Linked DNA regions of Homo sapiens: all the other regions are linked to region 3. Evidence: promoter capture Hi-C in 16 types of primary human blood cells and fetal thymus (Javierre and others, 2016). All regions are on one chromosome and are shown on one strand. Each heading gives the region's core, a stretch centred on a gene start or on the middle of the fragment in contact. The rest is flanking DNA. Distances are from core to core; before and after follow the strand shown. Region 1 has its middle 33 kb from the start of SARAF. Region 2 overlaps SARAF (store-operated calcium entry associated regulatory factor). Region 3 holds the start of INTS9 (integrator complex subunit 9). Region 4 holds the start of GTF2E2 (general transcription factor IIE subunit 2). Region 5 overlaps LEPROTL1 (leptin receptor overlapping transcript like 1). Region 6 overlaps DCTN6 (dynactin subunit 6). Region 7 has its middle 5.0 kb from the start of LEPROTL1.

Region 1 (3,815 bases), core at 772-3,271, 1.2 Mb before region 3:
ATGGATATATTACTTTCTTTTGGATAAACATTTCATGATTGCAGCCTTTTGGGAAGCTACATCTCTCTACTACTTCATATTGAGCTTATGAAAGTGACAAAAAAAATGCCACTCTATTTCACTAACTACTATTTCACTGAATTACTAACAGGAAGTCTCTCACCGTTCCTCATTTGTGCAACTGGTTAAAAAAACAAAGCAAAACAAAGAACACCAAGTTCAGGAATTATCAGTTACACACATTAATCTTCATCCCCTTACTTGTCCCTATCTTTTATGGAAGACAATAAAATATTTGTGTAGTAGATATCACTACTAATTCTTATACTTACAATAATCCTGGCACCTTAACCAACACGGATTCAGGATTCTCACTTTTTTGAAAATTATGGATAACTTTGAAAAGCAATGCCAGATTTTATCTTCTCAGATATACAATTGCTCATGGTGTCTCCCAGTCAAAAGTTGTTAGAAAGCAACCAGTCATGGCCCAAAGAATACCCCAAATTTCGAATTGAGTGTTTCCCAGAATCATTGGTTGTCACTTTCCTTTTCTCTAAGTACATTTTCTCTTTTATCACTAGAGGGCAATAATGCTCCACTATACAAGTCAGAAATCTCATTGCGGACAGTAAAATCTCCTAATATTTAGTAGGTTGCTTATGCTGTTGTAAACCTGCTAGATAGATTATTTATTTCCTTCCAGATTGTCACCAGACCATAAAAGATTGCCCCTAGAACCCTTCCCCTTTTTACACAAGTATATTTCCCCTTTTTACACAAAATGTCTCTGACATACTATTAGAATCAATGTAGTCTGCTGTAACTGGTCTCACATTTTCAATCATATAGGACTTAACTCTTTTCCATACAGCAAAATATTTCCAGATTCTGATGACTTCTCATCTCTTCTGCTATTGTCACTCAGGTTCAAGCCACTATCATTTGCTGTCTTAGTGGGGTCTACCCTGACAACTTGCATCAGTTAGGATAGGTCGGGTTATGCTGCAGTAACAAACAAGACCAAAAATCTCATTAGCTTAATATGTAGCTCACACCAAGTGTCTAACACAGGTTGGCAGGGGCTTTGGCTCATGATGTTATTCAGGAATTCTGGCCAAGTGAAGCTTCCTATGGCATGCAGCAGTGGGAGAGGCATGTGGAGAATCACACACTATACTTAAAGCTTCTGTCCAGAAATCACACACATCATTTCTGCTCACATTCCATTGGCCAAAACAAGTCCTATGGCTGTACTTAACTTTAATATGATAGGGAAGTACAATCCTAGTATAAGCCTGGAGATCAAAAACCATATGTATTTGGTGAACAGCAGTAAGGAAACCAAACCACTCTAATGATAATTTCACTTCCCCATTTCTGCCCTAGGACTTTGGATTTCCCTTATTCTGTTCTATTTTCTCCTATAACCCTTATCTTCTGACTTACTATATAATTTACTTTATTATTACTTTTCCTACCCCCTCTTTCTAGAATATAAATTCCACAAGGACAGGGATTTTTGTCTATCTTGTTCTATACTATGTCCATATTGTTCGCAACAGTGCCTGTCTCATACTAGGTATTCAACACATATTGAATGAATGAGTAACCAATGGATCATACATCAATTTTCTTCACCTTATACAACAGCCCACCCTATATGTGGAATGATGACACAAATTAGAGAAATTGACACTGTGCTTATTCAAAACCATGATATTTAGGCTGGGCATGGTGGCTCACAACCGTAATCCCAGCACTTTGGGAGGTTGAGGTGGGCGGATCATTTAAGGTCAGGAGTTCGAGACCAGCCTGGCCAACATGGTGAAACCCTGTCTCTACTAAAAATACAAAAATTAGCCGGACGTGATGGTGGGCGCCTGTAATCCCAGCTACTCAGGAGGCTGAGGCAGGAGAATTGCTTGAACCTGGAAGGCAGATGTTGCAATGAGCCAAGATCACGCCACTGCACTCCAGCTTGGGCAACAGAGTGAGACTCTATTTCAATAAAAAAAACAAAAACAAAAACAAAAACAAAAACCCAAACCATGATATTTAGGAAAGTCTTTGCAAGTAGGATGTCTTACTGGGAGAATGAAGTCTTTTGAATCCGGGACCTATTAAAGCATCATGACAACAAGCAGATTGGGAATATTGTTTACTGTACTGTCTTTATTGTTGGATGCATAAGCATGATGGTAAACATAATGGTAAGTCAATTATTTTCTTTTCTTATTTAATTAATTACTTATTACTTATTATTACCTTTCACTTGATGATTTCTGGAAGCTGGTGTTGGAATGGCAGTGTCGTCCCCCACATCCATGGCCACGATGTCCGGCTAAATTTTGTATTTTTAGTAGAGACAGAGTTTCACCATGTTGGCCAGGCTGGTCTCGAGCTCCTGACCTCAAGTGATTCGCCCACCTCAACCTCCTAATTAATAAGTAATTAATTAAATTAAATCAATTAGCTAATTAATTAATAAGTAATTAATTACATTAATAATCAATTAATTAAATTGGTCTTGTTCTGTCACCCAGGCTGGAGTGCAGTGGTGGGTTCATAGCTTGCTGTAGCCCTGAACTTTTGGGCTCAAGCGATCCTTCCACCTCAGCCTCCAGAGTAGTTGGGACTACAGGTGTGTGCTACCACACCCAGCTAATATTTTTTTCATTTTTGGTAGAGATGGGTCCCACTATGTTGCCCAGGCTGGTCTCAAACTCCTGGCCTCAAGAGATCCTCTTGCCTCGGCCTCCTAAAGTGCTGGGATTAGAGGCATGAACCACTGTGCCTGGCCAATTATTTTAAATATATGCTGTTTCGGTCCCTGCAGAGGCAGATGGAAGCTTAAAAGCTGTCAGCAGTCAAGCATCAAAAAGTGGAGTCAGATTCCTCATTGCGTATACATTCTTATTATTAGTTCAATACTGCCTAACTTGATATTTTAAATAACTCACAATTATTAGTTAGTTATTGGACTTCATGGAAATGAAAGGATCTGTTGTCATTTTCTGTAGGGAAAATGCCCGTGTGGCGGAGCAACAGGCAAGGATGCTTCTCAGATGACTTCCATCATTAAGTGTCTGTGATTCTGGGACATTGCTGTTCCAACACCAGCTTCCAGAAGTCATCAAGTGAAAGGTGATAAAGAAATTGTTTTATCTCATTATTTCCCTTTCTTGCCTTACCCTGTAAGCCTGGTCATAAGAAAGAAGAATAGGCTGGGCGCAGTGGCTCACGCTTGTAATCTCAGCACTTTGGGAAGCCAAGGCAGGCAGATCATTTAAGGTCAGGAGTTCAAGATCAGCCTGGCCAACATAATGAAACCCATCTCTACTAAAAATACAAAAGTTAGCTGGGCGTGCTGGCACACACCTGTAATGCCAGCTACTCAGGAGGTTGAGACAAGGAGAATCACTTGAATCTGGGAGGTGAAGGTTGCAGTGAGCTGAGATCACAACACTGCACTCCAACCTGGACGACAGAGTGAGGCTGTGTTTCAAAAAAAAAAAAAAACAAAAAACAAGAAGAATAGTCAAAGAATGGAGAGGTTTGATGGTTATTTTGATTTCAAAGAAGTTATGGAAACCTCTTTTTCTTTTTTTTTTGTTTTGAGATGGAGTCTTGCTCTGTCATCCAGACTGGAGTGCAGGGGTGCAATCTTGGCTCACTGCAACCTTGGCCTCCCAGGTTCAAGCAATTCTCCTGCCTCAGCCTCCTGAGTAGCTGGGATTACAGGCACCTGCCACCATGCTTGGCTAATTTTTGTATTTTTGGGGTTTCACCATGTTGGCCAGGCTGGTCTTGAA
Region 2 (3,842 bases), core at 1,239-3,738, 1.2 Mb before region 3:
AAGCTATCAGTGTGCAGTTGCACTTTTGATTTTGAACTTCACAACAGGGTGACCTAGGTTGCTCTTTTTTGGAGGAAGTTCCTGATGTCAGTGTATTTAGGTACTTCTTCTTGGTTAGATTACCAAGGGAATAGTCATCCAGTCTCCCACAGAGGACAAGGGGATGGCTGTTAGCATTTTGTGCACCATGTGGGGAAGGAGAACTGTGCTTTCAGCAGTCAGAGTGCACACAGTCACTTGGGTTCCCTGTTTGGTTGTTTTTGTCCCCATGCCCTTTACTATGCCAGATGGTCCCCAATGCAAATCCCTTCAGTTTTATCCTCTCCAGAGAATACATCTCCAGACAGTTTCCTTAGTGGGGAAGAGGGAGTTAGAACAGTGTGGAGTTGGGGAGAGGATCTGGGAATATGGCTTCCTCTCAAGTAGCTTTCACCCTGTAGTGTGTATTCCAGGCATCTCCCATTCCAGAGCTGCCATTTCCCGTTTTTTGTTTTTTTTTTTTTGTTTTTTTTTAGGGATTCTGTTATGTACATCAGGTTGATTCTCAGTTTCCCCCTTTGCTGTTCTGGCATTTGTCTTTCACTTAGGTCTAGTCATCTACCACTAGTCCATTTACTTTCTCCTTCCAAAATTCTGCTGTCATCTCCTCTTTCGTTTTACCTGACCACAGTCATTCACATCATCAAAACAATGTATTTATTATAGTTTTAGTAGAATTTTGGGAGGCTGCAAATTCTGCTAATCTGACAGGTTGAATATAGGGAATTGGGTACTCACAAAATGGTAGAAAGCGATGCCTATTACATCTGCCACATTGAAAAATAGATTGTTCATGTCAAGCTTCATGACAGCCAGGAAGCTGATTAGAGGATACTATCAGTTTGAAAACTCATGGTCTCCATGCCTGTGTTTACTAGCTGAAGGACAGAGCACTGTATAAGTCTAGGGTCTGCTTTCCAGATTTTGCTCGAGTCCCTCTGGTTGGCAGAACTGAAATTGCTTTTGGCAACTATAGCTGCAAGAGGTTTTGGGATTCCTTTTGCTTTGCAGGAAGGCATACCTGTTTGAGGGTGAAGTGGATGTTGACTGAGCCAATCCACAGCATCTTCCATCAATAATCCACAACATGATAAATAGGAAGACTTTGTCCTTATTTTCCAATAATGCATAGAAATTCATTTTTTTTTTTTTTTTGAGATGGAGTTTCATTCTTGTTGCCTAGGCTGGAGTGCAATGGTGTGATCTTGGCTCACTGCAACCTCCTCCTCCCAGGTTCAAGCGATTCTCCTGCCTCACCCTCCCAAGTAGCTGGGATTACAGGCATGTGCCACCACTCCCGGCTAATTTTGTATATTTAGTAGAGATGGGGTTTCGCCGTGTTGGCTAGGCTGGTCTCGAACTCCTGAGCTCAGGTGATCCACGTGCCTCGGCCTCCCAAAGTGCTGGGATTACAGGTGTGAGCCACCACACCCAACCTAAAAATTTCATTTTTGCACATGAATGCCAGACATAATTTTATTGTTTTGACTCCTCCTTTCAAAGTCTCTTGTCAGTATGTTTTAAATTTTTTAGTTTGTGAAATAGTTTAAATAGTTTTGATTTTTAAAATTATGAAATACCTAAAGTATTTAAACATACAGAAGTGTACAATGAACCTACACATAGTCATCACCCAGTTTTATTGAATCTTTATATTTTGCCATATTTGCTACAAATCCCCCACTCCCAGTAATAAAACATTAGGAATAGAGCTAAAATCTCTTTTCTTTCTCTCTCCCTAGACTAGATACTTATTTGAATTTGGTGTTAAATCCTTCCCATACATGTTTTCATGTTGTTATTATATACATATATAGACATTAACAGTATGTAGTACTGTTTTGCCTTTTTTAAAGGTTTATGTAAAGCTGTCATACAAAACATTCTGCAACTTGTATTTTGTTTAAAATGTTTTTGCCATCTATCTAGTTTGATACATGAATTCTAGTTCACTCATTTTAACTGCTATGTAATATTCCACTGTAATAGGTCAGAATGTGTTAATTTCTTCACCTGTTGATGGACATTTAAAGCATTAAATGTGCTTCAGGAACATGCTTATATTCTTGCCATTTTAATTAACCACTATTATTATTACACAGTAGTACAATGTTTCAGGTTAATGAACTTTTTGTTCTTTTGATTTAGCAAAAATGATGTACAACTTGTGCTGTAGAAGCATCTGGCCTGAAATGCAGGGAGATCTTAAAAGTGTGACCTGAATTTTGTTCAGAAGGCCTGAATGTTGTTGGGATAGTTTTGAGAAATAGATTCATCCTCTCTTAGCCATCCTCAGAAGGCAAGAAAGGCATTTCCTATGACGAGAGTTTCGTTAGGATGAACCTTTCTTTCTCTGACACGATACTTACTTTGTGTTCCTCTGTTTTCTTGCTGTTTCAGACAGAATGTTGCTGCGGGATGTAAAAGCTCTTACCCTCCACTATGACCGCTATACCACCTCCCGCAGGCTGGATCCCATCCCACAGTTGAAATGTGTTGGAGGCACAGCTGGTTGTGATTCTTATACCCCAAAAGTCATACAGTGTCAGAACAAAGGCTGGGATGGGTATGATGTACAGGTAATATCCACTACAGTAATGGCAGTCTAAATGGGGTTTTTATTCAGTAAATTGTTTATTGGGACATTATTCAGTCTTTTGAGGGTGCACCTACGGAAATCTCAGATCAGCCTAAAATATGTAAGTAAATCAATCACTCTTCCTGTGGAAGAAATGGCCTCCAAAAGAAATGAACTGATTTTAAAGCCTGAAAATACTCATTTTAGTTTTTGTATCGTGACCTCCTTCTAAGATATTTGTAAATTTTCACAACTTTTTATATACTTGAGGGTGAGGGATAGGGGATATCTTATGGTTGTCATTTTCCTGTCGTTCCTCAAAGAATACCAACCTACCCTTAAGACAAAGTTAAGATAATTAGGAATTATAGATCGTAAATAGTAGGGGTTCATATATCTCTATTGTGCTTCTAGCACTTGATTTTAAAATTGTCTTAGAACTGAGGGTGGTTACTTTTGAAAGGAAGCATTTCGGCAGGTTTCATTGATTGCCTTTGGGACGCTGGTGTTTTGTATACGAGCAGAGCATCTCCTTGAAGTTCCAAAACTGAATATGCTTTAGAGATAGATTTTATTAAATGAATTCAGTTTAAATCACTAGTTACATATTTCTACTTTGTATTCTGACTGCTTTCAAAATTGATTTAAGACGACTGGTCACAAGGCAAGAAACTTATGTTGACGATTTCCCCTCTCCATCAGAATGATATTCTTGTTTGATACAACCTTTATGCGTGGTCTTTGCAATTCAGAGAGGAAGTTGATGTGTACTGGGTGATACTTACTTCACAATATTTTCCCCCAGTACTGCTAAGTTGAATCATAGAATTCTCTGGGTTATAGCAGAAGTCTCACTCCACTTTACTTATGACTTTTAGAGTCTTGATGGGAAAAAAAGGCAGTAATGGTGATGTCATTCATTAAGCATGTATTAATTGCAATATACAAAAATGAATAAGGTAGAATGAAGAAACTGTCTTACTAGTAGAAGAGGTAAGACAGGCACTCAGATTACATGTAGGTCCCAACACAACATTATAAAGTCACGTCTGGTTGGAGCCATTGGGACTTAAAGGATGAGACATTTGTGCTGTGTTAGGAAGGAATGATAACATTTTTAGAGAGGAAAGGCTAGAGAAGGGAATAGCATGAGCAAAGGAGTGTTGAGCATATCATACATTGGCTTATGTTTAGTAGCAGGAGAGAGGCCATTTAGTAGCAGGAC
Region 3 (3,696 bases), core at 713-3,212:
TAGTCACATCACTCTACCTTATATGATACATGGGTGATTTTTTTTAAGCTTCAGCGTAAATAAAAACAGTAATCACTTTATACCATTCAACTTTACATAGTGTTATCTTTAATGCCAACTGCATTCTTCCCTTTACTCACCCAATGCTTCTTCACTGTTCCATTCCACCAGCTTTCAGGCAAATGCAAGACAGAACAGGGTGGAGTAGAAGAAAAATACAAGCAGCGCCTTTCGGCGCACCCCCTCTCCCGCAAATAATTTCCAACAGTTCCTCCTGCTACGAAAATAAGTCGCCCTATCTCCAGATACATAACAGACATTCCGTCTCCTTAGTAGACACACACAGACGCGTACACAATCCAGCACTCCCGACCCCCACCCCAGGCCCCCCGAATCTTCAGCAATTATTCATCTAATTCACACGAAGACAAGATACCTCTACCTACTGTTTCGGGGTGAAGGTGGGTGGAGGACGCCTTTCAAAGTAGCCCCAATAGTGTAACCAAAACACGGTTCCGGAATAAAATATTAAGAAACACTTTTCCTTTCCCACCTATCTACCGACTTGAGGATGCAAAAAATCCATCTCCACATCACACCATCTCTACAGTTCTCGTGGCTGGAGTTTGGGGTGGAGATTCGTCCAGGGGAGGGGGCGGAGGCGAGTGGCAGAGTGTGAGCGGGCGACGGGACACAAGCGAGTTGTTGAGCCCGGCCGCCTCGCACCACGTCGCCAGCCCAAACGCCCAGCACCAGGACCTCACGCCCGCCCCTCAGCCCAGGCCCAGAGCGAGCGAGGACTCGCGCTGTCTAACTTCCCATCTACAGACACCGCTCCAAGACGAGCAGAGCACACAAGTACACGTCACACAGTTTAAACACACTTACACACCCCAAACAAACCAACACACCTGCAAATCACCTCACAGTTTCCAGAACTCCACACCGGAGACCCCACCTCCAGGATTCAAACCTTCCGCTCATCGTAGAGGAAACCAGAAGAGTTGGGGGGCAGTCGACGCCTTTCCAGGACCGGACCCCACGAACTGCCCCACCCCACAGCCCGCGTCTGGGTCACCCACTCGGAAGCCCCCTGCTTCCTCCCTCCTCTCAATCCGGCCGCTTACGAGACCCATCCCCAGCGTCCGCTCACTTCCTCCCCAAAACCCCTCCAAAAAAATTGTTTTAAGTGAAGAGAAAGAAGTGAGGAAAGAGACTTGAGGTAGTCCGGCTTCAAAACCGCTCGACTCACCTCAGAATCCTCGCTGAGTTCTCTCCGCCCGGCACAGCCCCCTCCCCAACGTCCCAGTACGAAGGGCTGAGATAGGGAGGAGGGAAGGCGGGAGGGGGAGGGGTGTCTTCCGCGTGGGGCGCCCGTCGGGAGGGGACTGGGGAGGGGTTGAGGCCGGCGCAGGAAGAGGAGAAGGGGGAGGGGAGGCCCCTATCTCCCAGTCTCCCCCTGAAAAACCTCCCTTGTCTCAATCACATCAGACTGACTGTCTTTGTCTGGCTGACAACCGCCATATTGATATCAACAGCCCCTCTCCCACCTGCTGCCGCCGGGCGTCCCTGGGAGTTGTAGTTCCTGCCTCCCCTGAGAAAAATTGCGGAGCCCGGCGCCTAGAGGGCCAAGGGAACTACAACTTCCGGCAAGCCCCGTGCCCATCCGCCTTCCCTTTGGGAGGAGGGAAAGGGGAGTCGGAGCCGTCGGGACTACACATCCCAGAACACCATGGGCCCCAGGCCCGTAAGGAAGACATGATATCATGCTGGGGTGGAGAGGGAGGATGCATTGGCGGCTGGGATGAATTTGAGCTGACGGAAGGAGGCGTTCGGAGAGGAAAGGGAGGAAAAGGAAAGGCGACCACAGTTCCCATGATGCCTGGAGGGGAGACTACATTTCCCATTATTCCCCTGGAAGGGACGTGAGGATGAAAGACTGCAAGTCCCGCGATGCTCTCGGCTGGCAGGTGGCGGAGATTGCACCGGAAGACGCTTCCTGGGTTTGAGGAGTTCAGTGACTGCTATTGAACCACCAAAAGTCCATTATGAAACTGGTGAGTCTTCGCTCCTAGGTCAGAGGGCAAAGGTGATGCTATAACCTTTTGGACCTCTTTTTTTCCTACGTTGGGCAGGGAATCGTCGCACGGGAGGGGTAGCAATTATTGAGCTGGAAAGTGGAGTGGGCTAAGGAAAGCTGCTTTTTGTTGTTGAGAAGGTTTGAATTCCCTCTCCCCCACCCCATCCCTCCCAGGAGGTCTTTTTTCACTCGTTAGTGGGTCTTTTTGTTCAGACAAGAGGTTGACTGTCACAGTCCTTCGCCCATGAACTCTGTGGGCTCTGTTAACCAGGTTTGGACGTCCTGGTTCCCACGTGAGGGTTATAATAGGCTGTTAACAATCCGTTTCCATTCGATTGGCGCTTGAGTATCCTGTCTCCCTACTGTTGTTGAGACTGGCTAGATTTAAGCAGACAGTAAAAAACATCCAGCAGAACGTAATCACTTATTAAATATCCTGTTATATAGACTCCTCACTGCCCTTGGAATTCAGGACGAGGTCAGAGTGTGGAGAAGTTGAGTCTTAAACCCTGCATGGGATTTAGATGGGCAGAGAAGTGTTATATGGTATTCCATTCTAAGACTGTAGGGACTTCATGAGCCAAGGCTGAATGAAGCGTGCTCGGTATACCTGAAGTCTTAACATCACACAGCTCAAGCACCTGGTTCATGGAGGCTCCTCAGACCTTTGATTTGAGCCATTTGACTCATTGTGCACACAAGTCTAACTAGTTTATTCCAACTCGATTCAATTAGTTAATAACATAGTGTAGAAAGGCAGGTGTGAAACACTGTTTCTCAACCTTTTAAAACCCATATTTGTGCAGCCAAGTTATTGTCAAGCTTTACTTGAGGCAGGAGAATCGCTTGAACCCGGGAGGCAGAGGTTGCAGTAAGCCAAGATCGCGCCACTGCACTCCAGCCTTGCAACAGCGCGAGACTCTGTCTCAAAAAAAAAAAAAGTTTATTTTTTACCATTTATATAATTATCTGAACATGCTTTGCCAAACCACACAACACACCTACCCTCATCTTGATAATCATTGTGCTACAGGCATATATTCTGCAAAGCCAGCTGTTTTCTGCGAAGTCAGAGAAAGTATTAAAAGTGGATTCAATTCCGAAATTGTCCCCGTATAAATCTGTTTATATAAGGGGAAGGATGCGGGTCACTAAACCTTGAGAATAGCAACTTACCCCTGGGTCAGTGTGTTACACATTTAATAATGCAGAATTAAAAGTCATAGCCGTTGCCCTACAGAAGCATGCAACCTAAGAAGAAGATAGAAAAGTAAACCAAAGTTATTATTTATTTATTTAGAGACAGGGTCTGGCTTTGTGGGGCCCAGACTGAAGTGCAGTGGCGCGTTCTCAGCTCGCTGCTACCTCCACCTTTCGGACTCAAGCGATCCTCTCGCCGCGTCAGTCTCCCCATATAGCTGGGAATACAGGCGCGCACCACTGCACCCTGCTTATTTTTTTTGTAGAAATGGGGTTTAACCATGTTGCCCAGGCTGGTCTCAAACTCCTGGGTTCAAGGTATCTGCCCACCTCAACCTTCCAAAGTGCTGGAATTACAGGCATGAGCCACCATGCCTGGTCCGAAATTATAATTCACTGTGTTCATGGTGAAATAG
Region 4 (4,102 bases), core at 1,372-3,871, 1.8 Mb before region 3:
CTAGCTGTGTTGTCTTGAGCAAGTCATTTATTAATTAGCTTCCTGGCCCTCTGTTCTTCGCTTGTAAAAGAGCTGGAACCGCGTTCTCGGTGTGCAGGTGCTGGTGTGTGGCGCTGGGGTAAACTCACAAAATAACCGTTGAGGCCGGGCGCGGTGGCTCACGCCTGTAATCCCAGCACTTTGGGAAGACGAGGCGGGCAAATCGCTTGAATTCAGGAGTTCGAGACCAGCCTGGGCAACATTGTGAGACCCTATTAATACAAACAACAACAACAATAATAACCAAAAATAGTCCGTCGTGGTGGCACTCGCCTGTGATCCCAGCTACTCCGGAGGCTGAGGTGGGAGAATGGCTTGAGCCCAGGAGCGGAGGTTGCAGTGAGCCGAGATCGCGCCACTGCCCTCCAGCCTGGGTGACCGAGTGAGATCACGTCTCTAATAAGAAAAAGACAAAAAACACAAAGTAACCATTGAAAGATAGCGTCGTCGGCTGGGTTCACCACATCCCAGCGCACGCCGGAGCAGGCTGTAGCAGTTTTAATAAAGTGTCTATAAAGAAAGCTGCCTTCCATCTTCAGTGGCGCCGCCTCCCACTTCAGTCCCCTTCTCGGCCCCACCCCAGCCCTTCCCTCGTTGTCATGGAGGCCCCAGGACGCCAGAGCGGGATAGTTCCGCTCCCGCGGCACCAGAGGCGGGGCACGCAATGACGCATGCGCTCGCTTGGCTGCCCTGGCGCCGCGGTGGCTGCCGGGACTGAGCTCCTAGCACCCGATCGGGAAGTGGCGGGCGGAGTCCCGGGTCCAGTCGCCGCCTCAGCTACCGCCGCTGCCGCCGCCGCCGCCGCCACCGCCAGTGGTGAGACCCCGACCTGGCGGGTCAGCGCTGGGCGTGCGTGCGGGCAGGCGGGGGCGCTGACGAGAAGCAGGAAGAGGGTGCAGTGCCGGCGTGGGCGGCCGGCCGAGGCGGAGGCGCAGGAAGGGGGCGGCGAGTCGTGCGAGGCTGCCCTTCTCACTCAGGTAGGGGCTGCGGCCGCCGGGTGTGGGGCGCAGAGCCCCGGCTTGCTGTTCCCTGGGACGCAGGCGCGCCGCCGCCTCCCGGGAGGCTGAGCGTGACCTCCACCTCACGGGAAGCTGGGACCGCCGTTCTCGAAGCGAAACACCCAGCACGCGAACCGTTCCCCGGAGCATTGTCTTTAGGCCAGAGGTTCATTGAGCAAACTTTTGGGTTGGAAAGAGGGAAAATTCGCGGTCTGCCGCCTGACTGTGCCTCTTCCAAGCCTCCAAGTTCACGGGCGCGGTAGCCAAGCGAACCGTGTGTGGAGTTTGAGCAGCCGCGGGGTCCAGCCAGCTCAAGACTGTGATTTAAAATGATGCTCATACGCGGACTGCTTTCTAGGCTACCTTTTGGAGATTTGGTTTGTGATGATCCCTAAACTTTAACGATAGTAGTTGATTTCTGCAGTCTAAACAACGCTGCGGCCCCCTTTTCGCCCACCTCCCCACTTCCGTCATTTAAGGGCGAAGCAGCCTGCTTTTCATAGCCGGGTCCTGAGGTGCCAGGGACACTAACGAGGCTGGGTAAAAGTGAAAGAGAGGGGAAGTAGTAAGGTTGAAAGAGGTCGAATGGTGGCAAGAATCGTGGGCTTGGAGGCAGATTTCAGTTTAATTTTTGGGTTTTCCGTGTCTGCCCACGGAGGAACCAGCCAACTCCTTGAGTTGTGGTTTTGTTTAATTGTAAAATGGACATGGTGATGTAGCCTGTTTACTCCATAGGGGGGTCCAGAGATCTAAAACTTAGTACACATATTGGGTAGTCTTTGAAAAAGGAGGAAAAGTTAGGCGGAGCACGTGATGGTGAAAGACAGACATTGCGAAGCTTTCTGCTCTAGATGCCTTTGAACGTTCCCGAACCTCACAGGTGGCCTTTGTTTTAAAGGCCTTTACCAGCGTTCCAGGTCTGGTGTAAGGAGCACTTGAGTTAGGAGTCAGGAGGTTTGGTTCCTGGCCCTGGCTCTTCCATCTGTGCGACCTTAACCAGACAGCTTCACTTCAGATTTCACGTATTAAAATAGGAATAACACTAATACCTGTTTGCTCCTAGAGTTGCGAGGGTCAAATACTGTAAGCATTTAGTTTGTTGTAAACTGTACGGCTTTATTTACTTTTTTTTTTTTTTTTTTCTGAGACGGAGTCTCGCACTGTCGCCCGGGCTGGAGTGCAGTGGCGCGATCTTGGCTTACTGCAAGCTCCACGTCCCTGGTTCAAGCGATTCTCCTGCCTCAGCCTCCCAAGTAGTTGGGATTACAGGCACCCGCAACGACACCCTGCACATTTTTTAAATTTTTAATGGAGACGGAGTTTCACCATGTTGGCCAGACTCGTCTAGAACTCCTGACCTCGTGATCCGCCCTCCTCGGCCTCCCAAAGTGCTGGGATTACAGGCGTGAGCCGCTGCGCCCGGCCTATTTAAATCTTTTAGAGTAATTTTTTTAAAGTCCAGATTGAGGTCCTGCCTTTGCAACGTGAAATAAGACACAAATGTTTCCTGTTCTAGAAATTTACTTTTTGCTCCCACCTTCTCACTTGACAATTCTCCTTTCTTCTTCTTGGCCCCACGCTTTCCCTCCTCCCAAGGCTGTCTCCTACTTTCCTCAGCCCGGTAAATCATTCCCTTCTTTCAGATCCAACTCAAAATAGTAATACTGAAATAACACGTTTTTATGACTTTACTGTTTAAAAAATAACATACACATTTTCTCATTCTTACAATTGGGCTGGATGTGGACAGCTTTCATAGCGTCCTCATTTCACTTATGAAATTGAATGTAGAGGCCTTGTGGGTTGCCTAGCCAGGTGGCTTTAGGAATTGAAACTGAGGCCGGGTGCGGTGACTCACGCCTGTAATCTAAGCACTTTGGGAGGCTGAGGTGGGCGGATCACTTGAGGTCAGGAGTTCAAGATCAGCTTGGCCAACATGGTGAATGAACCCCGTCTCTACTAAAAATACAGACATTGGCGGGGCGTGGTGCTGCGCGCCTGTAGTCCCAGCTACTCGGGAGGCTGAGCCAGGAGAATCGCTTGAGCCCAGGAGGCGGAGGTTGCATTGAGCCGAGATTGCACCACTGCACTCTGCCAGCCTGGGCGGCAGAGCGAGACTCTGTCTCAAAAAAAAAGAAAAAAAAATTGAAACTGAGAGAAGGCAGGTTTTTGATTCACCGTCCAGTGATTGTTCACGCCTTAATTGAAATTCAGTCTGATTATTTCTTATCAATGCTTATATTTAAAATTTTTAGCTCAATGCTTCCATTTTCTCAAATCTAAGCAGCATGTAGACAAGGATTTATCTTCCGTAACCTTTCAAAGCTTAGAGCACAGTGCCTCACAAACAAGATATTTAATAAAGGCTTGTGAAACCAGTAATAATGGGACCAGAGCAATTTAAAGATGATGTTCCATGTGTTGTTCATTTAACAAATATTTATTGAGCTATCTGTGCTTAAAAGCTTTCAAAGTATGAGTCTTTTTCCTCCCAGCTGACACTAGTCTTAACAGTGTCAAATTCATTTATATAGTCAGCTTGAGGTCTTCATAGACCCTCTGTAGGGTTCTAGCAGAGTTCAGAAGAGAGGTGTGTTTAGAATTCTTGTTGGTTGACCTGTAGCTTCCCTGGTTGTAGTGAAATTGCTTTGAGTTGTAATTTTAGAACTAGACAAACAACAACCACAACATAGAAGTTGCCTCAAACCACCTCCCTCCAAATTGGAAATTTTCTGTAGACTTTTTTTTTTTTTTTGAGACAGAGTTTTGCTGTATCCCCCAGGCTGGAGGGCAGTGGCGGGATCTCAGCTTACTGCAACCTCTGCTGGACTCAAACAGTTCTCGTGTCTCAGCGTTCTGAGTAGCCCGGACTACACGTATGTGTCACTATGACTGGCTAATTTCGTAGAGATAGGGTTTCACTATGTTGCCCAGGCTGGTCTCTCAGCCTCCCAAAGTGCTGGGATTACAGACATGAGCCACTGTGCCCGGCTCTCTGTAGACATTTCTAACAAATAGTATAATAATTCAGCCTCTTCATCACTTAATAATTGAGAGTTCACCAG
Region 5 (3,874 bases), core at 1,332-3,831, 1.2 Mb before region 3:
TAACAGGTGGATATGATGAACCAGTTTGGATCTGTGTTCCAGAACCTTGATTTTTATTTTCCATTTCTCCCTTACTACTCCTTTACTCCTATCCAGGTGATATGGATGAGCAAAAACTTGGTAGTCATCACTGACTCCACTCTGTCTTCCACACAACTCATCAGCAAACCTGCTTTTATTCCTTTAAAATATAGCCTGAGTCTCACCACTTTTTATATCTCCATGGTATCTGGGATCCAGAGATCATCGTGTCAGAATCAAAAAGCTGTCCCCAACTGCCTCTGAAACCTCAGGATGCTGAAGAACCCCAGACTGCTGCTCCAAAGGAATTCTCACATCCTGTGACCCTGCTGGCTGGCACAAGACCCACCAGAGCAACAGAAAACCACCCCCCACCCGACCTCTTTCTGTCTCCCAAATCTTTCCCTTCCGTGAACTCCACACTTCTCTCTTGGCTTGGAGATGAATTGGCTTCGATATATTTCTGTCTCTCTTATCTCATTAGATTACCACTTCAGAGAGGGACTGTGCTCCAAGATTTTCCTGTTTCCAGTAGTACCTGGAATGCGGCATGTAACTGCCACTGGGAACAAGGAAGTTTTCTAGAGGAAAAGCTGAAACCAAATGCGGAATTTCAGCATAACTACCTCATGACATAGCCGAAGTGAAATACAGAGATGTGAACACCAAGTTGTTTCTACCTAATACACTGGACATTTCTTAGCATCTGGGTTTTTAAATGTATATATTTTTGAAATCACTGTTTTAAGCACTGTTTGGATTTAGTTGATAATAAATTATTTAATTTAAATAATTACTAGGCCATTTAAATTAGTAAATGACAAACATCATTTGTAGTATGAAGTATAGCTCAAAACCATCTTCTTTTTCTTTTAATTCTTAGGGACTAACACCTTTGTCTTCACTGCTACACTCAGTTAATGTTTAGAGCCAATTCTTGCTTATGTTTTGGAAGTTGATGATTTAGACCCTCCCTGACAAAAATAAATCCACCTACACTTGGTTTAATCCTAGGAAGTTGTTTCAATTGTAAACCCTTTCAGAAACAATCTTCAAATAGATGACATAAGTAAACCTAGCTTTCAGGAAAACATCTGTCCTATTTTGGGGAGGTTCCCAAATCTACACAAGTTCATTTACTTTTATGTCACAGTTGTATTTACATGATATTATACAATAAACTGATCTACCAAGAGAAAAAGATACTTCCAATATTAAATGCCAGACACACTATATATCAAGATAATTAATAAATACTAATGCTTTTACAAACAGATATGGAAATACTCAGGTTTATTCTTTAGTATTTTATTCTATTGGCTGGTTTCTATGGTTGTAAACTGCCACAACGCTTCTCTTTCATAGTATTAGACATTCTATTTGCTTTTTTTTTATTTTGGGACAGAGTCTCACTCTGCCACCCAGACTGGAGTGCAGTGGCGTGATCTTGGCTCACTGCAACCTCTGCCTCCTGGGTTCAAGCGATTCTACTGCCTCAGCCTCCCAAGTAGCTGGGACTACAGGCGCCACCACCACACCCGACTTAATTTTTGTATTTTTAGAAGAGATGGGGTTTCACTATGTTGGCCAGGATGGTCTCGAACTTTTGACCTCAAGTGATCCGCACCGCCCCCCAACCCAGCCTCCCAAAATGCTGGGATTACAGGTGTGAGCCACCATGCCCAGCCTCTACTGGCTTTTGAAGTAAAAAAAAATTCCTGATTCTGCCCCCACTACACACACGCGCGCACGCACACACACACACGGAGTACTGCCTCTAAATACAAAACTCTGCAGAATTACAGTTGAAAGATAAGTGTTTTATGGTCTTAATCTCTCACTCATAGAAACAGGTTTGGATTTGCTCTGTTCCCACCACCCTCTGCTAGAATTTACAAGCTTAACAGTTAATATCTGAATTACTGTGACTAACCATGTGTATGGGCATAAACCCACAGATGAATTCAAATAATCTTCAAGAGACTGGAAGCAAAGCATACAGTATAAAGTTTCTTGTAAAAATAAACTGTAAATCTATCTTCATCCCTAAACTTTCAGTAACTAAACACAAAGGGTGAAGTGAGATATAAGACCCTGGAAATCAGACAAAGGTCTATGAGTATCTTGAGCTCAGAATAACCCCAACATTAAAGTGTAGTAAACTTAATTATAAGCCTTCTTCTGCTGCACAGCATGGTAACACCTCCCTTATCTGGTGCTCCTTTTGCAATCTCAGATTATCTAGTATACAGTTAAAAATTATTTTTTTCTTAAAAAAGCCTTTCAAGAGGAAGAATACCTGTCACAAAGCATTTCATTTGTGTAAGAGGTAGGAGGCACCCTAATTAAGTCCACTGATGTACTGTGTACAGAAATGTTACATAATTGATTTAATAAGCTTGGTTGCCTTATTTTTTTCTTGACCACTTTCCACTCTTCCTAATATACTGTAAGTCAGCAACTTGGAAACAAAATAAGTTAAGGGGTGCTAGAAACAAATACTCAGTTGTATGAAAAGGATCAAAAACACAATTCCAGAAAAATACAGGTCGGCAGCCACTTACAATGGGGGGGAAATAGTTTATGATGATAGTCCTAAATTACCAAGGAAAAATTAAAGTGTTTTAATATATTCTAAGAAAGCACATGTGTACAATCCATTTAATACTTTCATCAAATGATTAAAGTAAAACAAACATTAGTTCTTAGTAAGCTAAGCTTCATTGATCTAAAATATTTACCTACAGGACATGTTTTCTTCCTTGAGAATGCCATAAAATGAACAGACCTGTAATAAAATCAGAGCTCCTAATCTTCACTGAAAGAAAGGGCAATACAAGCTTATAGAGAAGAAATACGAATTTCAATTTCCCACCAATCGTATACATCATAAAGCATCCTGGGATCTAAAACACACATACCACTTAACAATAACGTTGTGTTGCTTGTTAACTTTGGTGCATTGATTAAAAGTTATCTGAAACTTAAAAATCTAGTCACATTCAATATAAATATCCTAGACTTTAGAAATCTGGATTATTTTGGCCAAAGTGTGGTGGCTCACGCCTGTAATCCCAGCACTTTTTTTCGGGGCGGGGGGGTGGTTTGAGGGGGGTTGTGGTGGTGATGGCTTGAGGCCAGGAGTTTGAGACCAGCGTGGCCAACATGGCAAAACCCCATCTCTACAAAAAATACGAAAATTAGCCAGGCGTGGTGGTGCAGGCCTATAATCCCAGCTACTCAGAAGGCTGAGCGGCAGGGCGATAACTTGAGGCCAGGAGTTTGAGACCAGTGTGGCCAGCATGGCAAAACCATGTTTCTACAAGAAATACAAAAATTAGCCAGGTGTGGTGACCTATGCCTGTAATCCCAGCTACGTAGGAGGCTGAGGTATGAGAATCGCTTGAACCTAGCAGTTGCAGTGAGCCAAGATCGTACCACTGCACTCCAGCCTGGGCACAAAGCAAGTCTCAAAAAAAAAAAAAAAATCTGTATTGACAATGTCCCCAAAATCATATTAGAGCAGACATTTAGTGTCCACAGCCTAAACTTTTTAAAGTATATGATAAGATTATAATTAGGACAATTTGGGACACGACTAATATTTGAAAATACAGAACAGTACTTTTCTCTCTTCACAGTGTACCAAACAGAAATATTTTTTGTTTAAAATGTTTGCAAAAAGTAACATGCTATAATAATGAGTGGTAATAAATACATAATAAGAAGTCATAAAAATGTTCTGAAAATTTAAGAAGTAGGACCTTGCCTTTAGATCAGTAGTAGTCTTAAATGTCAACAAAACCTTTTATGACTATTTTTGTAAAAGATTTTGTAAAAATTCTACTTCCCA
Region 6 (3,838 bases), core at 149-2,648, 1.3 Mb before region 3:
AATGACGTTACAGGGTTTTTTTTTTTTTCATTAAAGAAACTGTTCATTTAAGGAAATAAAGTGTATTTCCTCTCTGAAAGTGTAATAGTTCACTGAACACTTTAGTCTGGTAGCATACAGGTGACATGCGGCTGCTGGTAAGAATGAGCTCACACCAATAAAACTACAAGGGCACCATATCCAGGTAAACCCCAGTTAAAAGAACAGAGTAAAATGTTTGAGGAACTTAGTCAAGTTCACGTAAGTAAAATGTTGGACTTGAACTCTGGCAAGGCTACACTGAGAAGATCTGACAGCGTTAACAGCAAATATTTATTGACAGCTTACTACTCACAATTTTCATGTTTTCTTTCAAGAAACCTAGGAGGTAGATACTACTATTTTGCATGTTATGAAAATTGCTCATTGCCATCCAATATCTCTTCTCCTCTTTTTCCTTGTAATAGAACCCTGATCTCATTAGCGGCTGCAATGCAACCAGCTAAGACTACAACTCCCAAACTCCCTTGCAGCTTGATGTGTCCATGAGATTGTCTTAGCCATGAGACACACAGAGGAGGGTCGTGTGGAACTTTCAGGAAGGCTGTTTAAAGGGAGCTGACTCACAGCTGGAACACATGCCCTTTTGCTTCCACGCCTCCCCTTTCTCATCCAAGATGATGCTTGGTGCTCTAGCCATCACTTCCTGGCCTGCAGGGCCGGAGCTCCATGCTGGACAATCAACCGATCAGCCCTCCATTACTCACCTTGAAACTTTTTATATGAGAGAATAAACCTCTGCAGGTGTAAGCCACCCCTACATGCAGCCGAACCTGATCCTGATACACACAATTATATAGATGGGAAAAACATCAAGGTTAGAGAGGTTAAGTAATATGTTCAAAGTAACCCAGCAAGAAAGGAGCAAGGAGCAGAGTAGCCCAGGTCTGTTGACTCCATGGCCCACGCTCTCCACGAAGCTCCACAAAGGCAGCACCTTTGTCTGCTGTGCTTACTGACGTGTCTCTAGCACTAGCACAGTGCCTGGCACATCGCAGGTACACAACAGATCTCTCTTAAATACATGAATGACTTTGTTATACAGCCTCATTAGTATTTCAGATAGGAGTTTAAACACAGCCTCCATCACACTACATTCTTTCAGAAATTTAAACACATAGGAGAAAATGCATTATTTTGTCAATAAAACTAGGACATCAGTGAAATAAACATGGAAGACGGTATCTAATTGTAAAGCACTAAAATAGATTAAATCACATCAATTCTTGAAAAACAGTAAATAAACTATTTCTTACCGATAGTTACATCTCCTCTGATTTCACTTTCTACACATACAACTGCTCCAGGAGCAATCTTCACACTGTAGCAAGAAAAAGGTAACATTTACCAGGGGTAAGATTAAACATACTGTTGGAGGAGCTACCGTGACATTGTAATGAAAACAAGGTTTAAAAAATGATGGAAAAAAAGGCCAGGCGCAGTGGCTCACGCCTGTAATCCTAGCACTTTGGGAGGCCGAGGTGGGGGGATCACCTGAGGTCAGGAGTTCGACACCAGCCTTACCAACATGAAGAAACCCCATCTCTACTAAAAATACAAAACTAGCCAGGCGTGGTGGCGAGCACCTGTAATCCCAGCTACTTGGGAGGCTGAGGCAGGAGAATCACTTGAACTCGGGAGACAGAGTTTGCAGTGAGCCGAGATCGCGCCATTGCACTCAAGCATGGGCAACAAGAGTGAAACTCTGTCTCAGGAAAAAAAAAAAAAAAAAGATGGAAAAATGGAAAGTCAATGGTAAGAGGGTAAGGTTTTAATACATTATAAATTTTTCAATTGGTATATTGTCCATCATCCCAAATCACATGTGCTAAAACACTTGAGAAGAGTTTTGAATCTTTTCTTTTAATAGCAGCACGTTTCTAAACAACAAAAAGCTGAAAACAACCTAGATATTCATCAGTGGAAGATTAGTTAATAAATTATGGCACATTATGGACTATTACATGGCCATCAAAAAGAATGAATAATCTCTTGTCAAGATTTTGGAATGGCTGAGCACAGTGGCTCACACCTGTAATCCCAGCACTCTGGGAGGCCAAGGAAGGAGAACTGCTTAAGCCCAGGAATTCAAGACCAGCCTGGGCAACATAGTGAGACCTCATCTTTTTTTTTTGAGACAGAGTTTCACTCTTGTTGCCCAGGCTGGAGTGCAATGGCACCATCTCGGCTCACTGCAACCTCTGCCTCCCAGGTTCAAGCAACTCTCCTGCCTCAGCCTCCCTAGTAGCTGGGATTACAGGCATGTGCCACCACACCTGGCTAATTTTGTATTTTTAGTAGAGACGGGGTTTTTTCAGGTTGGTGAGGCTGGTCTCGAACTCCCGACCTCAGGTGATCCACCCACCTCAGCCTCCCAAAGTGCTGAGATTACAGGCATAAGCCACCGTGCCCGGCGACCTCATCTCTTAAAAAAAAAAATATGGAATGATCTCCAAGCTATATTGTTAAAAGTAAAAAAGAGTGAAGTGAGAAAATGGACAGTATGTAATATGCCATTATTTTTGTAAAGGTAGGAAGAAAAAATATACATTCAAACTATTTAACAACCAGCAAGGTAATACTAACTTAGAAATTTAAAATTTACAAATGTTTCTGTTTACTCTCATATATATATATACATACACATATATGAGAAACTTTTTACCAAGTAATATAAATTGTAGTACAAATTCTTCAAAAGACTCTAATAATTTCCATATAACTTATTGATGCTTTTTTATATTCTGCTGTTATCTTTTGTTTGACAAAGCTGTATGTAAACACTGACCCTAGCTGAACCATGAGCTGACATGAGGAAGTACATCAAATGACTTCTCCATTACAGTGATAGTTATTAGGAAACTTCTTTTCATTAATAAAAGAATTTTTCTAAATGGCAATGACATTCATGGTGTTAAATCTGCTCTCAGCTACTATGAAATAACACTAACATTTTAGATATTTTGTCTTTGTAATTTTGTTTGGATTTTTCAAAATTTTGATTTCCAATTGTCACAGTATACAGAAATACAATAGTTTTGGGCTGGGCATGGTGGCTCACACCTGTAATCCCAGGACTTTGGGAGGCCAAGGTGGGTGGATCACTTGAGGTCAGGAGTTTGAGACCAACCAGCCTGGCCAACATGGCAAAACCCCGTCTCTACTAAAAATACAAAAATTAGCCGGGCATGGTGGTGGCCTGTAGTCCCAGCTACTGGGGAGGCTGAGGCAGGAGAATGGCATGAACCCAGGAGGCGGAGCTTGCAGTGAGCCGAGGTAGCGCCACTGCACTCCAGCCTGGGTGACTGAGCGAGACTCCATCTCGAAAAGAAAAGAAAAGAAAGGTGTAAATGTTTGTGCAAGAATGCTTATGTAAAAATATTAAGGCTGGGCGTGGTGGCTCACACCTGTAATCCCAGCACTTTGGGAGGCCAAGGCTGGCGGATTGCGAGGTCAGGAGATCGAGACCATCCTGGCTAGCACGGTGAAACCCCGTCTCTACTAAAAATACAAAAAATTAGCCGGGCGTGGTGGTGGGCGCCTGTAGTCCCAGCTACTTGGGAGGCTGAGGCAGGAGAGTGGTGTGAACCCAGGAGGTGGAGCTTGCAGTGAACCAAGACTACGCCACTGCACTCCAGCCTGGGCGACAGAGTGAGACTCTGTCTCAAAAAAAAAAAAAAAAATTAAAACACAATTTTATCTATTCTATCTATTTTTAAATACCATATGCATACATCTAAGCAAAGACTGGTAAGTAACAAAGTAAAAACCTCTTCCCCCCTCCCAGGTTGGACATCAC
Region 7 (3,635 bases), core at 940-3,439, 1.2 Mb before region 3:
TTGTTAGTTTAATTCACAGTTCTCAGCTTCTGAACCTAGGAGGGTAAAGAAAGTTTTTATCCTTTCCTACACTAGGAAAGATGGGTAAATAGTTCTCTGAAAACTTTTGATTGCGATCTGCCAAGGAAAATTTCCCCCAAGGAGAGACAACACAGTGATGAATAAATGTGTTAATAGAGAACGGAAAAGCCATCGCAGGTGGCGGGGTGTGTTGTTTGTGTGTGTGTGTTTGCGTGTGTTTGTGTGTGTGCGTGTTTGTGTTTGTGTGTGCCTGCATGTGTGTGTGCATGCATGTGTTTGTGCGTGTTTGTGTGTATGTGTTTGTGTACGTGTTTGCGTGTGCATGGGTATTTGTGTGTGCGTGTGTGTGCGTCCTTGTGCGTGTTTGGGTGTTGTGTGTGTGCGTTTGTCTGTGCGTGCGTTTGTGTGCGTGTCTGTGTATGCGTTTGTGCGTGCATGTGTGTTTGTGTGCGTGCGTGTCTGTGTTGTGGGCGTGTTTGTGTGTGCCTGCATGTGTTTGCGTGTTTGTGCACGTTTGCGTGTGTATGCATGTTTGTGTGTGTGCGTGTGTTTGTGCATGTGTGTTTGTGTGTGTTTTGTGTGTTGTGTTTTTGTGTGTTTGTGTGTTTGCGTGCGCGCATGTATGTATGTGTGGTGGGGAGTTAGGAGCTTTGGCAGCAAATGGAGCAAGGAACTTGCTTGGTCCCTTGGAGAAAAGAGAGGTGGCCAATGGGGTTGGTCAAGGTTGGGGTGGGGCAGCATGCTTATATAGTAGGGACGTACACAAGCAGTTTTGGGTTTTCTCTCTGAGCAATAAAAATCTTTTGAAGGTTTTAAAAGGAAGTAGGTGGGGGTGAGCTACGTACGATTTGAATTTTTAACTTTTTTTCAGTCATCAGACTAACATAAAGTGGCATGTAAGACTGTGGAGTGAATGTTTAGAAGAGATATTTCCAATATGCTTTAAAATGAGAGCAAATGGGAAGCTTGAGGCATTACCCACTTCGCTTCTCTCTACTATTTCTAGAGTTGAATTACAATTTAAACAACAACAACAACAACAACAAACAGGTCACTTCTTGAGTCTTAATGCACCAAATGAGTCTATGGGTGTTTTGTAGGAGAGTAGAATTTTTTTCTGTTCAAGTTAGTGCAGAAAGATCTACCATCTCTTTCCTGTATCATGAAAAAAGTTTCCATTTAAGGATGTGGTAACAAAACCACAAGGCACACTTGAACATATGCCATGGAAATACACGCTGTTTACACGGAATCTGTGAGCCACCAGCTCCTTTCTCTAAACTACTGAAGCAGGCATATACGTCCTTCTCCCCAGCCATCTTGAATGGATAGGTGGAATTCCTGGAGAAGTGAATAATTCCATCCCACATGTCACCTACCACAACACCTTTTCTTGTTTTGTTCTGTGAACCCACAATATGTGAGACAGGTCTCAGTCAATTTAGAAAGTTTATTTTGCCAGGGTTGAAGACGCACCCTTGACACGCCTCAGCAGGTCTTGATGACCTGTGTCCAAAGTGGTTGGGGCACAGCTTGGTGTTATACATTTTAGGGAGACATGAGACATCAATAACTGTATATAAGGTGTACATTGGTTCGGTCTGCAAAGGCGGGACAACTCAAAGTGGGGAGGGGGTGTCCAGGTCATAGGTAGATAAGAGACAAATGGTTGCCTTATTTTGAGTTTCTTTTTCTTCCTTTCTTTTTTTTGAGACCAAGTCTCACTCTGTCACCCAAGCTGCAGGCTGGAGTACAGTGGTGCGATCTCGGCTCACTGCAACCTTCAACTTCTGGGCTCGAGCAATTCTCCTGCCTCAGCCTCCCGAATAGCTGAGATTACAGGTGCCCACCACCACACGTGGCTAATTTTTTTGTTCTTTTTTTTGAGGCTGGAGTGCTGTGGCACCATCTGTCTTCTGGATTCAAGTGATTCTCCTGCTTCAGCTTCCCAAGTAGCTGGGATTACAGGCATGTGCCACCACACCTGGCTAATTTTCGTATTTTTAGTTAGAGACGGGTTTAACCATGTTGGCCAAGCTGGTCTTGAACTCCTAAGCTCAAGTGATCCACTTGCCTCGGCCTCCCAAAGTGCTAGGATTATAGGCATGAGCCACCATGTCTGGCCTCTTCTGAGTTTCTGATTAGCCTTTCACTGAATACACAATTTACAGGTATAGTCACTTATGCTTTAGTCTGGGTTAGTGAAAAAACAGGGCAAAGGAAGCAATCAGATAAGCATTTGTCTCACAGTGAGCAAAGGATGACTTTGAGTTCTCTCTGTCCTTTGTCCACAAGGAATATCCTTGTGGGCAAATTGTGAGGTAGGTATGTAGCTTTATTTTTTTCATTTATTTTTATTATTATTTTTATCTTTGTAGCTATCTTATGTAGGATAAGATAGCTACAAAGATAAATTTCCCTTTTTTTTTTTTTTTGAGGCAGGGTTTTATCCTGTTGCCCAGGCTGCAGTGCAGTGGAGCAATCACAGTCATGGTAGCTTCCTGTCATGGCAGCCTCCACCTCCAGGGCTCAAGCTATCCTCCTGCCTCAGCCTCCCGAGTAGCTGGGACCACAGATATGCACCACCATGGCCCGCTAATTTTTTACTTTTTGTAGAGGCGGGGTTTTGCCATGTTGTCCAGGCTAGTTTTGAACTCTGGGACTCAAGAGATCCTCCCACTTTGGCCTCCCAAAGGGCTGGGATCACAGGTGTAAGCCACTACCCCCAGCCTGATTTGCTCTTTTCAGTACAAATGTGTTGGCATTACAGATGTCCTTGACAACATTCATGGGCAACTGGGATTACTCATCAGGTTACAGGAATCTACATTCTTTTCTTCCATGGTCACAGAATCCTGAGAGATTGTGCTCCTTATCTTTCCCATGAGATTCAGTGTTTCCAGCACAAAAACACTCATCACTCTAAGGACCATTTTTGGTTTACTGGTCTAGGGACCAGTTGTGTCCGGAATTGGTGGGTTCTTGGTTTCACTGACTTCAAGAATGAAGCTGTGGACCCTCACGGTGAGTGTTACAGTTCTTAAAGACGGTGGGTCCGGAATTTGTTCCTTCTGATGTTCGGACATGTCCGGAGTTTCTTCCTTCTGGTGGGTTCGTGGTCTCGCTGACTTCAGGAGTGAAGCCACAGACCTTCGCAGTGAGTGTTACAGCTCTTAAAGGTGGCGCGTCCAAAGCTATTCGTTCCTCCCGTCTGGAATTGTTTGTTCTTCCCAGTGGGTTCGTGGTCTCGCTGGCTTCAGGAATGAAGCCGCAGACCTTCGCTATGAGTGTTACAGCTCATAAAGGCAGCACAAATCCAAACAGTGAGCAGCAGCAGCATTTATTGCAAAAAGCAAAATAAGAAAGCTTCCACACCCAGGAAGGGGACCCCAGCGGATTGCCGCTGCTGCTCTGGTGGCCTTTCTTTATTCCCTTATCTGGCCCCACCCACATCCTGCTGATTGGTCCATTTTACAGAGAGCTGATTGGTCCGTTTTGACAGAGTGCTGATTGGTGCATTTACAAACCTTTAGCTACACAGAGTGCTGATTGGTGCGTTTACAATCCTTTAGCTAGACACAAAAGTTCTCCAAGTCCCCACCCGATTAGCTAGA

The links. Contacts are between HindIII fragments. The CHiCAGO score rates a contact against its expected background, and 5 or more counts as called.
Region 1: a contact is called between a fragment that was not itself captured here and the fragment with the promoter of INTS9 in region 3, in 7 of 17 cell types (naive CD8 T cells, fetal thymus, naive CD4 T cells and 4 more). The highest score is 8.4, in naive CD8 T cells.
Region 2: a fragment that was not itself captured here is called in contact with the fragment with the promoter of INTS9 in region 3 in 1 of 17 cell types (fetal thymus); the score reaches 7.9 in fetal thymus.
Region 4: a contact is called between a fragment that was not itself captured here and the fragment with the promoter of INTS9 in region 3, in 1 of 17 cell types (fetal thymus). The highest score is 5.4, in fetal thymus.
Region 5: a contact is called between a fragment that was not itself captured here and the fragment with the promoter of INTS9 in region 3, in 2 of 17 cell types (activated CD4 T cells and fetal thymus). The highest score is 5.4, in activated CD4 T cells.
Region 6: a fragment that was not itself captured here is called in contact with the fragment with the promoter of INTS9 in region 3 in 1 of 17 cell types (fetal thymus); the score reaches 5.7 in fetal thymus.
Region 7: a contact is called between a fragment that was not itself captured here and the fragment with the promoter of INTS9 in region 3, in 1 of 17 cell types (fetal thymus). The highest score is 9.3, in fetal thymus.

Annotation. Positions count from the first base shown.
Region 1 is chr8:30,048,013-30,051,827 of GRCh38, reverse strand. No RefSeq gene overlaps it. Among named protein-coding and RNA genes, the nearest start is that of SARAF, 33 kb to the left of the region's middle. The HindIII fragment of the contact is 1,666 bases long and covers 1,189-2,854 here.
Region 2 is chr8:30,072,653-30,076,494 of GRCh38, reverse strand. It overlaps SARAF (store-operated calcium entry associated regulatory factor), which reads left to right. Exons shown (of 6, transcript NM_016127.6): 2 at 2,440-2,618. Among named protein-coding and RNA genes, the nearest start is that of SARAF, 8.5 kb to the left of the region's middle. RefSeq lists an enhancer at 1-39. The HindIII fragment of the contact is 3,292 bases long and covers 843-3,842 here.
Region 3 is chr8:28,888,235-28,891,930 of GRCh38, reverse strand. INTS9 (integrator complex subunit 9) reads left to right here and starts at 1,962. Exons shown (of 17, transcript NM_018250.4): 1 at 1,962-2,057. The coding sequence starts at 2,049. It overlaps HMBOX1 (homeobox containing 1), which reads right to left and starts at 1,536. Exons shown (of 10, transcript NM_001135726.3): 1 at 1,253-1,536. RefSeq lists a silencer at 1,294-1,413 and enhancers at 1,066-1,622, 1,784-1,983, 1,623-2,179. The HindIII fragment of the contact is 2,854 bases long and covers 51-2,904 here.
Region 4 is chr8:30,654,887-30,658,988 of GRCh38, reverse strand. GTF2E2 (general transcription factor IIE subunit 2) reads left to right here and starts at 753. Exons shown (of 8, transcript NM_002095.6): 1 at 753-1,016. RefSeq lists enhancers at 210-881, 1,553-2,224 and silencers at 659-1,068, 1,079-1,168. The HindIII fragment of the contact is 1,487 bases long and covers 1,878-3,364 here.
Region 5 is chr8:30,108,279-30,112,152 of GRCh38, reverse strand. It overlaps LEPROTL1 (leptin receptor overlapping transcript like 1), which reads right to left. Exons shown (of 4, transcript NM_015344.3): 4 at 3,629-3,874. Among named protein-coding and RNA genes, the nearest start is that of LEPROTL1, 15 kb to the right of the region's middle. The HindIII fragment of the contact is 320 bases long and covers 2,422-2,741 here.
Region 6 is chr8:30,161,633-30,165,470 of GRCh38, reverse strand. It overlaps DCTN6 (dynactin subunit 6), which reads right to left. Exons shown (of 7, transcript NM_006571.4): 2 at 1,296-1,360. Among named protein-coding and RNA genes, the nearest start is that of DCTN6-DT, 6.9 kb to the right of the region's middle. The HindIII fragment of the contact is 5,050 bases long and covers 1-3,838 here.
Region 7 is chr8:30,088,590-30,092,224 of GRCh38, reverse strand. No RefSeq gene overlaps it. Among named protein-coding and RNA genes, the nearest start is that of LEPROTL1, 5.0 kb to the left of the region's middle. The HindIII fragment of the contact is 2,401 bases long and covers 989-3,389 here.